Regions from separate parts of the Homo sapiens genome. Here region 1 is linked to region 2. The links are contacts of gene promoters, found by promoter capture Hi-C in blood cells and fetal thymus (Javierre and others, 2016). All regions are on one chromosome and are shown on one strand. The core of a region is centred on a gene start or on the middle of the fragment in contact, and the rest is flanking DNA. Distances in the headings are between cores, read along the strand shown.

The links. The method cuts DNA at HindIII sites, captures the fragments that hold promoters and counts their contacts. A CHiCAGO score of 5 or more calls a contact.
Region 1: a fragment that was not itself captured here is called in contact with the fragment with the promoter of USP34 in region 2 in 1 of 17 cell types (fetal thymus); the score reaches 5.5 in fetal thymus.

What each region holds. Positions count from the first base shown.
Region 1 is chr2:63,842,443-63,848,258 of GRCh38, forward strand. All of the region lies in intron 1 of UGP2 (UDP-glucose pyrophosphorylase 2), which reads left to right. Among named protein-coding and RNA genes, the nearest start is that of UGP2, 3.5 kb to the left of the region's middle. RefSeq lists an enhancer at 4,864-5,644. The HindIII fragment of the contact is 1,431 bases long and covers 587-2,017 here.
Region 2 is chr2:61,469,599-61,475,431 of GRCh38, forward strand. It overlaps USP34 (ubiquitin specific peptidase 34), which reads right to left and starts at 1,489. Exons shown (of 80, transcript NM_014709.4): 1 at 1,052-1,489. The coding sequence starts at 1,094. It overlaps USP34-DT (USP34 divergent transcript), which reads left to right and starts at 1,498. Exons shown (of 3, transcript NR_185882.1): 1 at 1,498-1,781. RefSeq lists silencers at 811-1,230, 1,321-1,400, 1,431-1,740. The HindIII fragment of the contact is 6,929 bases long and covers 1-2,368 here.

The DNA.
Region 1 (5,816 bases), core at 52-2,551, 2.4 Mb after region 2:
TAGTACCGTCGCTTTCCTGGATAGTGGCTGTAAGTGATAAAACAGGATTTTTGGCTGCTAATTAATCCTTGTTCTCTTTTCCTGGTCTGTGTCAAGGTACCTGTGCGTGCACGCAGACGGGAAGGGCTGGGGAAGCGGGAGGACTGAGAAAAGCCGGGTGGGTTTTGCCGGGACTGTTGGGGAAGCTTTAGTGTTCTCCGCTTCTACTTCGTTTGTGTGTACGTGGTTTGCGTCTCAGATTCACTTATTGCGAAACTGGGAGTAGCCCGAAGAAGCTGGAGGTCATTTCAGCTGGAGAAATGACTTTGCTGCATTGCTGTGTTTATTTTTTCCTTTTTTGAACTATGAAAAGATGATTAAGGTTCCTTTGAAGTTTGAAAACTGCTCTCTAAATTCCACATGTGTATTTAAAAAGGGTTAGGGAATGCCTCAACTGAGATTATCAGTAACGTGTATATGAATGCATGTGTGTACGGTGTACTCACTGAAATTGGTGCTGGCATAAACCTTTGACACCAGTTTGTAGCATGAGATTTGCCTTCTGGTATGCAAGTAAACTCTTTCCTTGTAGACTCCAGTGTGTGAAAGCTTCAGCCATCTTGATGAACACACAGCTAGTAAAGTTCACAAACACTTATTATGCTTCCTGATAAATGTAGGTGTACTTTTGGAAAAAAAAAGTTGTGTCAGTAATGGCCATCATTTGACCCTGGGAATAAAAATGCCCTACTGAGTTCTACATCGCTTTATTAACTCTTCTTTAAATTTTGTGTAGTAGATTAAAGTAAGAGAATTCGACTGCCTGTGTTATTATCGAAACAGATCGAACGCTATGCTTGCCTTTAGCGCTAAGCTCAGAAATGTCACTTGTTATTAGACTTTCAAATTCATGTTATACCTTATATGTGGTAAGAGATGCTTATGTTCTGATTGAGTAAATGTCTTATTCAAGAATAGAAAGGCAGAACTGTTAGAAACGTACTGGTTTTGTAATAACAATATTCAGTTACCATAAAGGCGGTATTTTGCAAGAATATGCTAGGTAAAAGTGGACAAGTTACTTCTCTTTAAAAGTTAGAAATATTAATAAACCCAAGGTGTTCCATGTAGAGTTATGCTTTAGAATAGGTTGCAGAATTGGCAAGCATTGACTGATTTCACAGCCTTTGCTGTAATGCCAACTTGTCCTCAGAAGATTCAAAATCAAGTGGTAAGAGTTGCTGTGTATGTTTGTCATTACTTTGTCATCCACTTTTTTTAAAAAAACTTTTTATATTTTGGAATACTTCAGGATTTATAGAAAAGTTGCACATTTGTCAAAACTAAGAAATTAACATAGGTACATTACTGTTAACTAAAGGCTTTGTTCAGATTACAGTTCCCATGATTCACTCTAAGATACCAGATTGCACTTAGTTGCCAGCCACTTTTTTTCTTTTTTCTTTTTCTTTCTTCTTTTTTTGTCAAGGTCTTACTGTGTTGTCCACGCTGGAGTACAGTGGGTATTCACAGGAACAATCATAGTGCACTACAGCCTCAAGCCCCTGGGCTCAAGCTGTCCTCCTGCGTTAGCCTCCTGAGTAGATGGGACTTAGGCATATGCCATAGCCTATAGTTGTCATACATTTTTACTTTAAATGGTAGTTTTCCTTTTAAGATGGGCAGTTTTGCACAAGAATATGACACCTCCTCAAAATTTTTTGACATGAATGTGCTCCTGTTTATCATTGTTTAAATTTTGTACAGTGTGAGCCCTCTATATGTTTAACTCTGCTGCTGTTGTAAATGATAAACCTAATTGGCAAATGACACAGCTGTCTCCACAAAAGAGCTTTCAAGTGTAAGGGTTGGAAATTTTGGTTTTGATTATTTTTTTAAGCAAATCAAATTCTTTGATCTTTGCTGCAGAAAATATTGATATTTCCAATCACTGGCACTTAGTAGTTCATGCTCCTTCATAGGGGAAAGAGTTAACAAATGTTAGGTTTCTAACTTTTTTTTTTCATGGGTTTTCTCAAGCTTTATAAGAGTCCTGAGATGTAGATTTTTTATCCTGCCCTTACAGGTGAGGAAAGTTAAGTATCTTGTCCAAAGTTCACAGCTTGTATAAAGCACTGATTGATTGATAGATTGATTTTGAGGCAGGGTCTCACTTTGTTGCCAGGCTGGAGTGCAGTGGTGCGATCACAGCTCACTGCAGCCTTGATCTCCTTGGCTTAAGCAATTTTCCCACCTCAGCCCCCTGAGTAGCTGGGACTACAGGTGCACACCACCATGCCTGGCTACTTTTCTCCTTTTTTAAAGAGACAGGCTTTCCCTATGTTTCTCAGGCTGGTCTCAAACTCCTGGTCTTAAGCGATCTTCTAGCCTCAGCCTCCCAGAGTACTGGGATTACAGGTGTGAGCTGCTAGTGCACAGCACTGAAATTCTTACATGAGTGTGTCTAAAACCCTAGTCCTTCCCGACATCTTTTGTTGCTTCTAACATTAACAACTGTGGAAATGGCCTGTTTCTCCAGCTAGACTGTCAGTTCCCATTGGGCAAAGATAATATTATATCCTTGGGAGAAATACAGTGTTTTGTAAGTGGACGATACTCTAAATGAATTTGTCATGGATGACAAATGAGAAGCCCACAGCTTAGCATTTTCCATCTACTATTTAGTAGCTTATCTTACATTTTTGGTTGTAGTTTTTATAACACCTCTTAGATTATATAAATGTTGAGAAAGATGGAAAGGTACAGACTTAGATTTGAATACCGTTACTAGCAGGTGATCTTAGGCACATACCTTTCAAACCTCAGTTTCTTCTTAGATAAAAATTGGGCAGTAATGCTTATGCCTCAGGGTTATTGAGAGGCTGAAATGAGATGAACTATGTGGATGTGCTAGGCACATATTAGGTAGCCAGTCAATTTTACTTTTCTTTCCTGAAATGATGGTGGCCTTTCAGATAGCATTGCCACCCAAAATATAACCACATGTCATCAACAGAACTAAAAGAAAAAAGGCAGGTATGAAAGTTCTTTATTTTCCTATTCCAGGTTTCATGTTCAGGCCTAGGTGTTATTATGTTAAAAAAAAAAAAAAAAAGTGCCGGGGTGGGGCAAGGTAACGTTTGGACAATATGAATTTGGTTGTAGTTTTTATAACCTCTCAACTTGAGTACAAGTTGGTGACGGTTTTCTTCTGAATACAGTGAACAAAATTTTTTTTGAGCTCTTACTATGTATGATGTACTGTATTAGGATTTCTGGCATATCCCTTATGGTAGGCACTGAAGTTCAGCAGATCTGGGCATTACACCTAAGTGTTGTGTACACCTGTTTTGAATGTAGTAGGATGGTTGCTATACTTGGCTTGTATCTCCTTCTCCAAATCCTAGGCATTGTGCCTTAGAGGAAAGCTGGGTATCTCCATCCTCAAGCATATTGACCGTAAACTATTAGGTGGAAATGTTCAATTAATAAAAATATTGAGGTAGGCAGGAGAGTTCTTAGTATATATTTCTTGGTCAAAAAAAAAGGTTCACGTTTCTTTGGTCACATCCCCAAGTCTCTGTCCCTCAGGCACTTAACATTCCTTCTCTTAGGAAGACCTTTCTTTACTGGATCTGCAGCATAATTCCTAGCTATTCTGCTGTTGGGTCACCTTCTGCCTACTTGTGACATTCCTTCTGCTCTTCCTTGCTCCAGGGATTGTTCCAGGGCCCCCAGTTATTCTAAATGGATGTGAGTACCATCTCTTCCCTAGCTGAGTGAGAAAGGGGGCTCCCTGTCATAGTTTAAGGTACCAGGGGCGGGGGTCATCAGCAGCTGTGGGTTTTTGTCAGGTTTGTCAGTGGGTGCCATTTGGAATTTTGCTTTTAAAAAGTTCTGAGAGTTATGGGGTAATCACTCTAAATGTTTTGAAACTTAATAAATAGTGAAGAGAGTAATGTTGTCTAGCCAGCTAAGGCTATAATGGATGCTAATGCTCTAATATTAGAGGCATTGTTTTTTTAAAAAAAATGATTCTAAATGTGCCATTATCTATCTAAATTATGTAAAAATGTCCCTGATGTTCTTAAATTGAGGTACATACTTACATTTCAGGGAAAGTCATTTAAGTACCTCTGTCACTTAAAAAATGCTTGAGGCCTATCAGCTTTCCCATTTGTTAAAATTCTTTTCATAACTTTTTTGGTGACTCCTATTTGATAGATGGCAGCTAGCCAGGGAAGATTACTGAGCTAATTATAACTGGAGGGGTCTCCGAGGAATACAGAGATGAGAAGCATTCTGGGGCCTGGTTCTTCTCAAATCCTAAAACCAAATTTAGCCTGTTGCTGATTATTTAGATGATGAGGACACTTTTAGCACAGGGATAGTGGCATGGATTTGAGTGAGGACAAGAGCCATGAAAATAATGACTAGGGCATACCCCTCATTTTTTAAAGATCTGATTTAAGATTTATTATATTATTTGAAGAGAAGGGTTTAGTTAAATTCAGTCACAGTTATAAATGTAAAAAAAAATTCTAAAGAAATTTAAAATGAAGAGTTGAGCTGATGAAAAGTGCTGTTTTCCAACATGGACCTTGTAATCTCTGTGGTTAAATTGTCCGTGTTCTTGCTAACTCAGCCTTTCTTCTAATAAGATGGATGATTTTCATTTGTGAAAGTCTACTGAGGAAAAAAAATTGATAAGGGACATTAGAGAAATTAGAAATATTAACTGGTACTCTTTTTGGGAGTGCCATTTTAATATTCTGAATAAATTGAAAAATGACCTTAAAAGGAAATTCAGGTGTTATTTTAGTCCATAGGTATTTTCTTGTAATATGTTTCACAGAGACCCTTCCCTTTGTTGGTATGTATTATTTTTCCCTTCATAGATGAATTATAGCAAGTTTAATTAAAATAATGGGATACTTAGATTGTGTGAGGAACATCAGTTGGCCTAATAATGAAAGTGTTTCAAATAAAAGAAATATACTGTAGTTTCCTAGTTCCCACCAAGCTTTTTGCAGAAGTATAGGCTTTCATGCTCGTCCGTGTGAAGAGACCACCAAATAGGCTTTGTGTGAGCAACATGGCTATTTCACCTGGGTGCAGGTGGGCTGAGTCCGAAAAGAGAGTCAGTGAAGGGAGATAAGGGTGGGGCCATTTTATAGGATTTGGGTAGGTAAAGGAAAATTACAGTCAAAGGGGGTTTGTTCTCTGGCGGGCAGGAGTGGGGGTCACAAGGTGCTCAGTTGGGGTGGTTTTGAGCCAGGATGAGCCAGGAAAAGGACTTTCACAAGGTAATGTCATCAGTTAAGGCAAGGACCGGCCATTTACACTTCTTTTGTGGTGGAATGTCATCAGTTAAGGTGGGGCAGGGCATATTCACTTCTTTTGTGATTCTTCAGTTGCTTTAGGCCATCTGGGCGTATACGTGCAAGTCACAGGGGATGCAATGGCTTGGCTTGGGCTCAGAGGCCTGACATAGGCATTATGAGTTCTCAGAAAGTTAGCAATATTAATTACTGAAAAGTTAACATAAACAGATATTTGAAAGTCAACCTGGATTATCTGTGAAAATGAAGAAGAGTGTGTTAACTTTCTGTAATGCCATTCATCCTGATATCCAGCATTTATACTGTTGGAGAAAATTCCAGCAATATGAATAAATTAGTAGGGCAAGTTCTCTGGCTTGGGGTTTAATGGATGAGAAAATATGATTCAGTTACTACCTTTTTGGTTGGATAGAATCTCTTTAGAAGACAGAGTTTTTCTAAAGACTGTTGCCGTTTTGACATAGCCTACAATTTCTTTTCTAAATATCATATTTT
Region 2 (5,833 bases), core at 239-2,738:
ATGGTACATTTTATAAATCAACTGTTTTAGCGAATTGTATTACAAAATTAGATAGTCTGAAAGTCTGTGGAAATATCACAAACAGAATACAAATCCAAAACCCACATAAACTGTTCATAAGTGAGCATTTTTTCAACAATCAACTTTTTGTAAATTGATCCCTTCATCTAATTCACCTCTGCCAACTAGGCCTTTACGCCCAGAAGTAGTTGATTTGCAATATATCTTCTATAAGCTGAAATACCATCTTGCAAGGGTCGAGAATAAAATAAAAAGGCCAGAAAAGATCAACGTACCCTTTTTAATAATAAAAAGTAAAGTACCAGGTAAAAGGCCTTTCCTTCCAAGAGAGATAGGCCATAACTATCCCGGGATGGTATGTGTAGTACAGTGCTCTGCTTAACAGAATGTACCATTAAAGCGGTGAATGCTACACTAAGAAACATCATTAACAAATTTATTTTAAAAATAGGTATGAAGGTTCCAATCATCACTATCACAGTTCGTTTTCAGCTATTTAAGGTCTGGCTGAAGTGTTTAAGACACCCACAAACCCGCAAGGGAGGGAAAAACCACCACCCTGCTCCCGGGAGTTTAATGAAAATTAGCAGGTAAGAGAGGCCTCGGCAGCACGCTGGAAATCAAAGAGGGCGGCCGGAGGATTTGGACTGCGGAGGAAAGCCTCGTCCTCCGACCCCACCTCCCCGCACCTTCCCGGCAGGGCGAAGGAGGCGAAGGCGGCGAGGGGTTCATTACTGCCTTCATTAATTGACACCTGTAATGAGGAAACTTTCCGAGAGCCCAGAGCGCCCGGGCCAGGCCGAGCCGGAGCTCCGCGGCGGCCGCCTCTCGGGCGCCCAGGTAACCCGGCCGGGCTGGGCCCGAGGCGCCGCGGCGGCCGCGCCACCGCGCACCTTCCCGGGGCGCTAGGCCCGCACGCCGCCCGGCCCGGCCGTCGCCTCCCGCAGGCCGCGGCAGCCCGGGGAGGCCAGAGAGCTGCGCGAGGACCCCAAACCGTGCACCCCGACAGGCCGCTACCGCGGCTACTTACTTTCATTTAACACCTCCACCAGGTCTGCGCAGTTCTCGCACATCGTTCGGCCGCCGCCCCCCCCCTCCCCCGCTTCGGATCACACTGACTGATCCCGACCGGCGGGGGGGAGGGGAGAGAGGCGGAGGAGGGGGCCGGCCGGCCGGCGGGGCGGGGAGGCGACTAGGGCGGGCGGCGGCGGGGACGGGGCGGGGAGCAAGAGAATGGGGGAGGGGGCCGGCGGTCCCCGCAGCGGGAGGGGGAGAGGAGGGGAGCGAGGGGAGGTGCGCAGGCCGGAGGGGCGCCGAGGCGCCGGCGGCGGGGAAGGGGGGGAAGGACGGGGGGAGGGGAGAGGGGGGGAGGGGGCGGGTGGGGAGAGAAGCAGCAGAGTCACTTCACCGACCAGACGCCGCGGCCACCGCCGACGCCGCCGCCATTTTAACAGAGCGCTCGGGCTGCGCTCGGCTCTTTCCGCCCGGGCTTAGGAGCGGACGAGAGGCGCCTCGCGCTCTCATTCCTCCGCCTCCCTCCCTTTCTCGCCTCTCCTCCGCCCCCCACCTCTCCCTCCGCACACACGCCGCACGCTCCACACCCCGCCGTGGCCGGCTCGCCGCCCTCCCTTTCCTCTTCCGTCCGGCCTCCCCGCCCTCGGTCCACCCCCTCCGCGCGCTCGCCCACCCCGCCCAGCCCGGATCTCTGTCAGCGGCCGGAAGGGAAACGCGAAGCCAGCGCGGCCGCGGGGGGAGTCCGGGTGAGTAGGAGAAGATGGCGGAGGCAACGGACGGGTCGCGGTTGCGTGGCGTCGCCCACCACGACCCACTCCACGGGCTCTGAGGCCCGGGGAGCGCCAGGTCACTCGCTCCGTCCTGTCCCCCGCCCCTGGGCTTCGCCATTTTTCCCCAGGGCCTGGGTCGGGGAGTTGGTGCGGGTTTCTTTGGTGTCCCCGGCCTCTTCCGCGCTTAGGCTTTTGGGGTACGGGAAGCAAGGAGTCAACTTGGGTGCCGGGCCGGGTCTACGCCGTAGCCCTCTTTCGGGCGCAAGGGCCACTCCCCCCGGGGTCTGAGAGTGAATCAGCCCAGGGCCCGGCTTAACTGCATCGGTGATTATCGCTACCCTGCAGTTCCTTGAAGGTCCTCCGTCCTGGAGCAGTAAGATCCTTGACGTAACTAGAAATGGCAGGGTAAGGAGTGTTTGCCTGACATCGTCTCGTTTTTACGGAAGAGGGCCCCTCACGATGTGCCCATCAGCCCCACCTGAAATAGCAAGAAATCTTCTTCAGCAGAGAGCGAATAACAAGGATATTAAGATAAAGAACAGGTGAAGGGGGCAGTCAGCTGAAGCTTGTAAGGGAATTTTCCTCACGCCGGCACTTACCCCTTGCTTGCTAATTTTTGTGTTCAACGTGTTTACATAGACATGTGACTGCAAAGTCCGAAAGATCGTGTACAGAATCTCTGAACGGTAACCAGAGTGTCTGTCAAGGCTCTGTAGTCATTCTCTCGATAGCTTTTGTGGAGGTTATGGCACGCCCATCTCTCCATGCCAGAACCACCTGGTTCCAAATGCTTTGCCTTTCTGCTGCTTGAAGTTGATACTATAAACAGTCTGCCCAACCCGTTTTGTTTCCCACTAGCAGGTGATCCTTAGGATTGTAGTTCTATTCTACCATCATCTTCCCTTCTTCCTTGTCTTTCTCACAGAATTGGGTTTTTGCAGACTTACTTTGGATCCTGAGGCAGACATTCGTTGTCCACTCAACATACATTCCCACGTATCCCTTTTTTCCCTGCCAACACAACCCCAATTATTTTTATTTGAATTTTTTTTTTTTGAGACAAAGTCTCACTCTGTCGCCAAGGTTAGAGTGCAGTGGTGCGATCACAGTTCACTACAGCCTCCACTTTATGGGCTCAAGGGATCCTCCCACTTCCCTAGTAGCTGGGGCTACAGGCGCTCTCCACCACACGTAACTAATTGTTTTTTATTTTTAGTAGGGACAGGGTCTTGCTATGTTACCCAGGCTGGTCTCAAACTCCTGGCCTCAACTGATCCTCCGGCCCAAAATGTTAGGATTACAGGTATGAGCCAACGTGCTGGTCTCACGTTTTTTCAGGTAGCAGTTGAAACCAACCATCATGGTGATCTGGCTTTTCTAGGGCTGGCCATACATAATTGAGTTCCTCCTGATAAAAGGTAAGCAACAATCCTGAGAAACATAGTGGGAGCCCTGTGTCTACAAAAATTTAAAAGGTGGCTGGGCGCGTTGGCTCACTCCTGAAATCCCGCACTTAGGGAGGCTGAGGTGAGCAAATCACCTGAGGTCGGGAGCTCTAGACCGGCCTGACCAACATGGACAAAGCTCATCTCTGCTAAAAATACAAAATTAGGCATGGTGGTGCATGCCTGTAATCCCAGCTACTCAGGAGGCTGAGGCAGGAGAATCGCTTGAACCCGGGAGGCAGGGGTTGCGGTGAGCCGAGATCGCGCCATTGCACTCCAGCCTGGGATAAGAGTGAAACTCCGTCTCATAAAAAAAAAAAAAAAAAAAGGCCAGGCATGGTGGTTCATGCCTGTAATCCCAGCGCTTTGGGAGGCCGAGGCGAGAAGATCACTAAATCAGGAGATTGAGACCATCCTGGCTAACACGGTGAAACCCCGTCTCTACTAAAAATACAAAAAATTAGCCAGGCATGGTGGTGGGCGCCTGTAGTCCCAGCTACTTGGGAGGCTGAGGCAGGAGAATGGCATGAACCCAGGGAGCAAAGCTTGCAGTGAGCTGAGATCGCGCCACTGCACTCCAGCCTGGGCGACACAGCAAGACTCCGTCTCAAAAAAAAAAAAAAAAAATTACCTGGTCGTGGTGGCTCACGACTATAATCATAGTACTTTGAGAGTCCAAGGCAGATGGATTGCTTGAGCCTGGGAGTTCTACATCAACCTGGGCAACATGGCAAAAGTCCATCTCCAGTACATAAGAAAATTAGTGGAATGTGGTGGTGCACACCTGTAATCCCAGCTACTGGGGAGGCTGAGGTGGGAGGATCACTAGAGCCCAGGAGATTGAGACTGCAGTGAGCTGTGGTCATACCACTGCAGTCTAGCCTGGGTGACAGAGTGAGACCCTCTCTGGAAAAAAAAAGAAATGTAAGCAGAAATCTGCAGGATGGGTTCTTTGGGAAGAATTCCCAAAAGAATTCCTAATACGATGAGGGACAAATTCAGCTAACATACCATTTAACCCTTTCTGCCTGAAACATGGTCTTGATGCACAAAGTAATACCCATCTTGTAATTTTTTTAACAATGAAAACTTTTACCCCATTTGCGATTTCATTGTTTAAAAAATTTGATTAAACAGGCCGGGCACAGTGGCTCACGCCTGTAATCCCAACACTTTGGGAGGCTGAGGCAGGTGGATCACCTGAGGTCAGAGTTCAAGACCAGCCTTACCTACATGCTGAAACCCCATCTCTTCTAAAAATATAAAAAATGAGCCGGGTGTGGTGGCGGGCACTTTGTAATCCCAGCTACTCGGGAGGCTGAGGCTGGAGAATTGCTTGAACCCGGGGGTGGAGGTTGCAGTGAGCCGAGATTCTGCCATTGCACTCCAGCCTGGGCAACAAGAGCAAAAAAAATTCCATCTCGAAAAAAAATGATAAAACAGAATCATAAAGTGTGGATCCCTGATGCATCTTTGAACAACAGTCTATGCTCAGACTGCTTATGTGAGAAAAATAAAATGTATTTTTCTTGGCTGGGCATGGTGGCCTACACCTGTATTCCCAGAACTTTGAGAGGCTAAGGAGGGCAGATCACTTGAGGACAGGAGTTAGAGACCGGCCTGGCCAACGTAATGAAACCCATCTCTACTAAAAATACAAAAATTAGGCTGGGCGCAATGGCTCACGCCTGTACTCCCAGCACTTTGGGAGGGGGAGGTGGGCAGAACACAAGGTCAGGAGTTCAAGACCAGCCTGGCCAACGTAGTGAAGCCTCGTCTCTACTAAAAATACAAAAATTAGCCGGGTTTGATGGCGCATGCCTATAGTCCCAACTACTTGGGAGGCTGAGGCAAGAGAATTGCTTGAACCCAGGAGGCAGAAGTTGCAGTGAGCCAAGATCGCACCAGTGCACTCCAGCCTCGGCGACAGAGCAAGACTCCGTCTCAAAAAAAAAAAAAAGCCGGTTGTGGTGGAGGGCACCTGTAATCCCAGCCACTCAGAAGGCTGAGGCAGGAGAATCCCTTGAACCCGGGAGGCAGAGGTTGCAGTGAGCTGCAGTTGCCACTGCACTCCAGCCTGGATGACAGAGCAAGACTCCTCAAAAAAGTTCTTTTTCTTTAAGCCATTCTTCAGATTTTCGTTACTTGTAACCAAACACATTTCTAACTACTGATTACAGATACTCTTTTTTTTTTTTTTTTTTTTTTTTGAGTCTCGCTTTTTTTGCCCAGGCTGGAGTGCAGTGGAGTGATCTCCGCTCACTGCCAGCTCCGCCTCCCGGGTTCAGGCCATTCTCCTGCCTCAGCCTCCTGAGTAGCTGGGACTACAGGTGCCACCACCACACCTGTCTACTTTTTTGTATTTTTAGTAGAGATGGGGTTTCTCCATGTTGGTCAGGCTGGTCTCGAACTCCCACCCTCAGGTGATCCGCCCGCCTCGGCCTCCTAAAGTGCTGTGATTACAGGCGTGAGCCACCGCGCCCGGCCAAGTGTGTATAACTGTTGATCAACATTTTGAAGACCAGTTATGACAGTTAAATTATTTGCCACAACTCAAATGAACAGCAGAGCACTTTATCACAA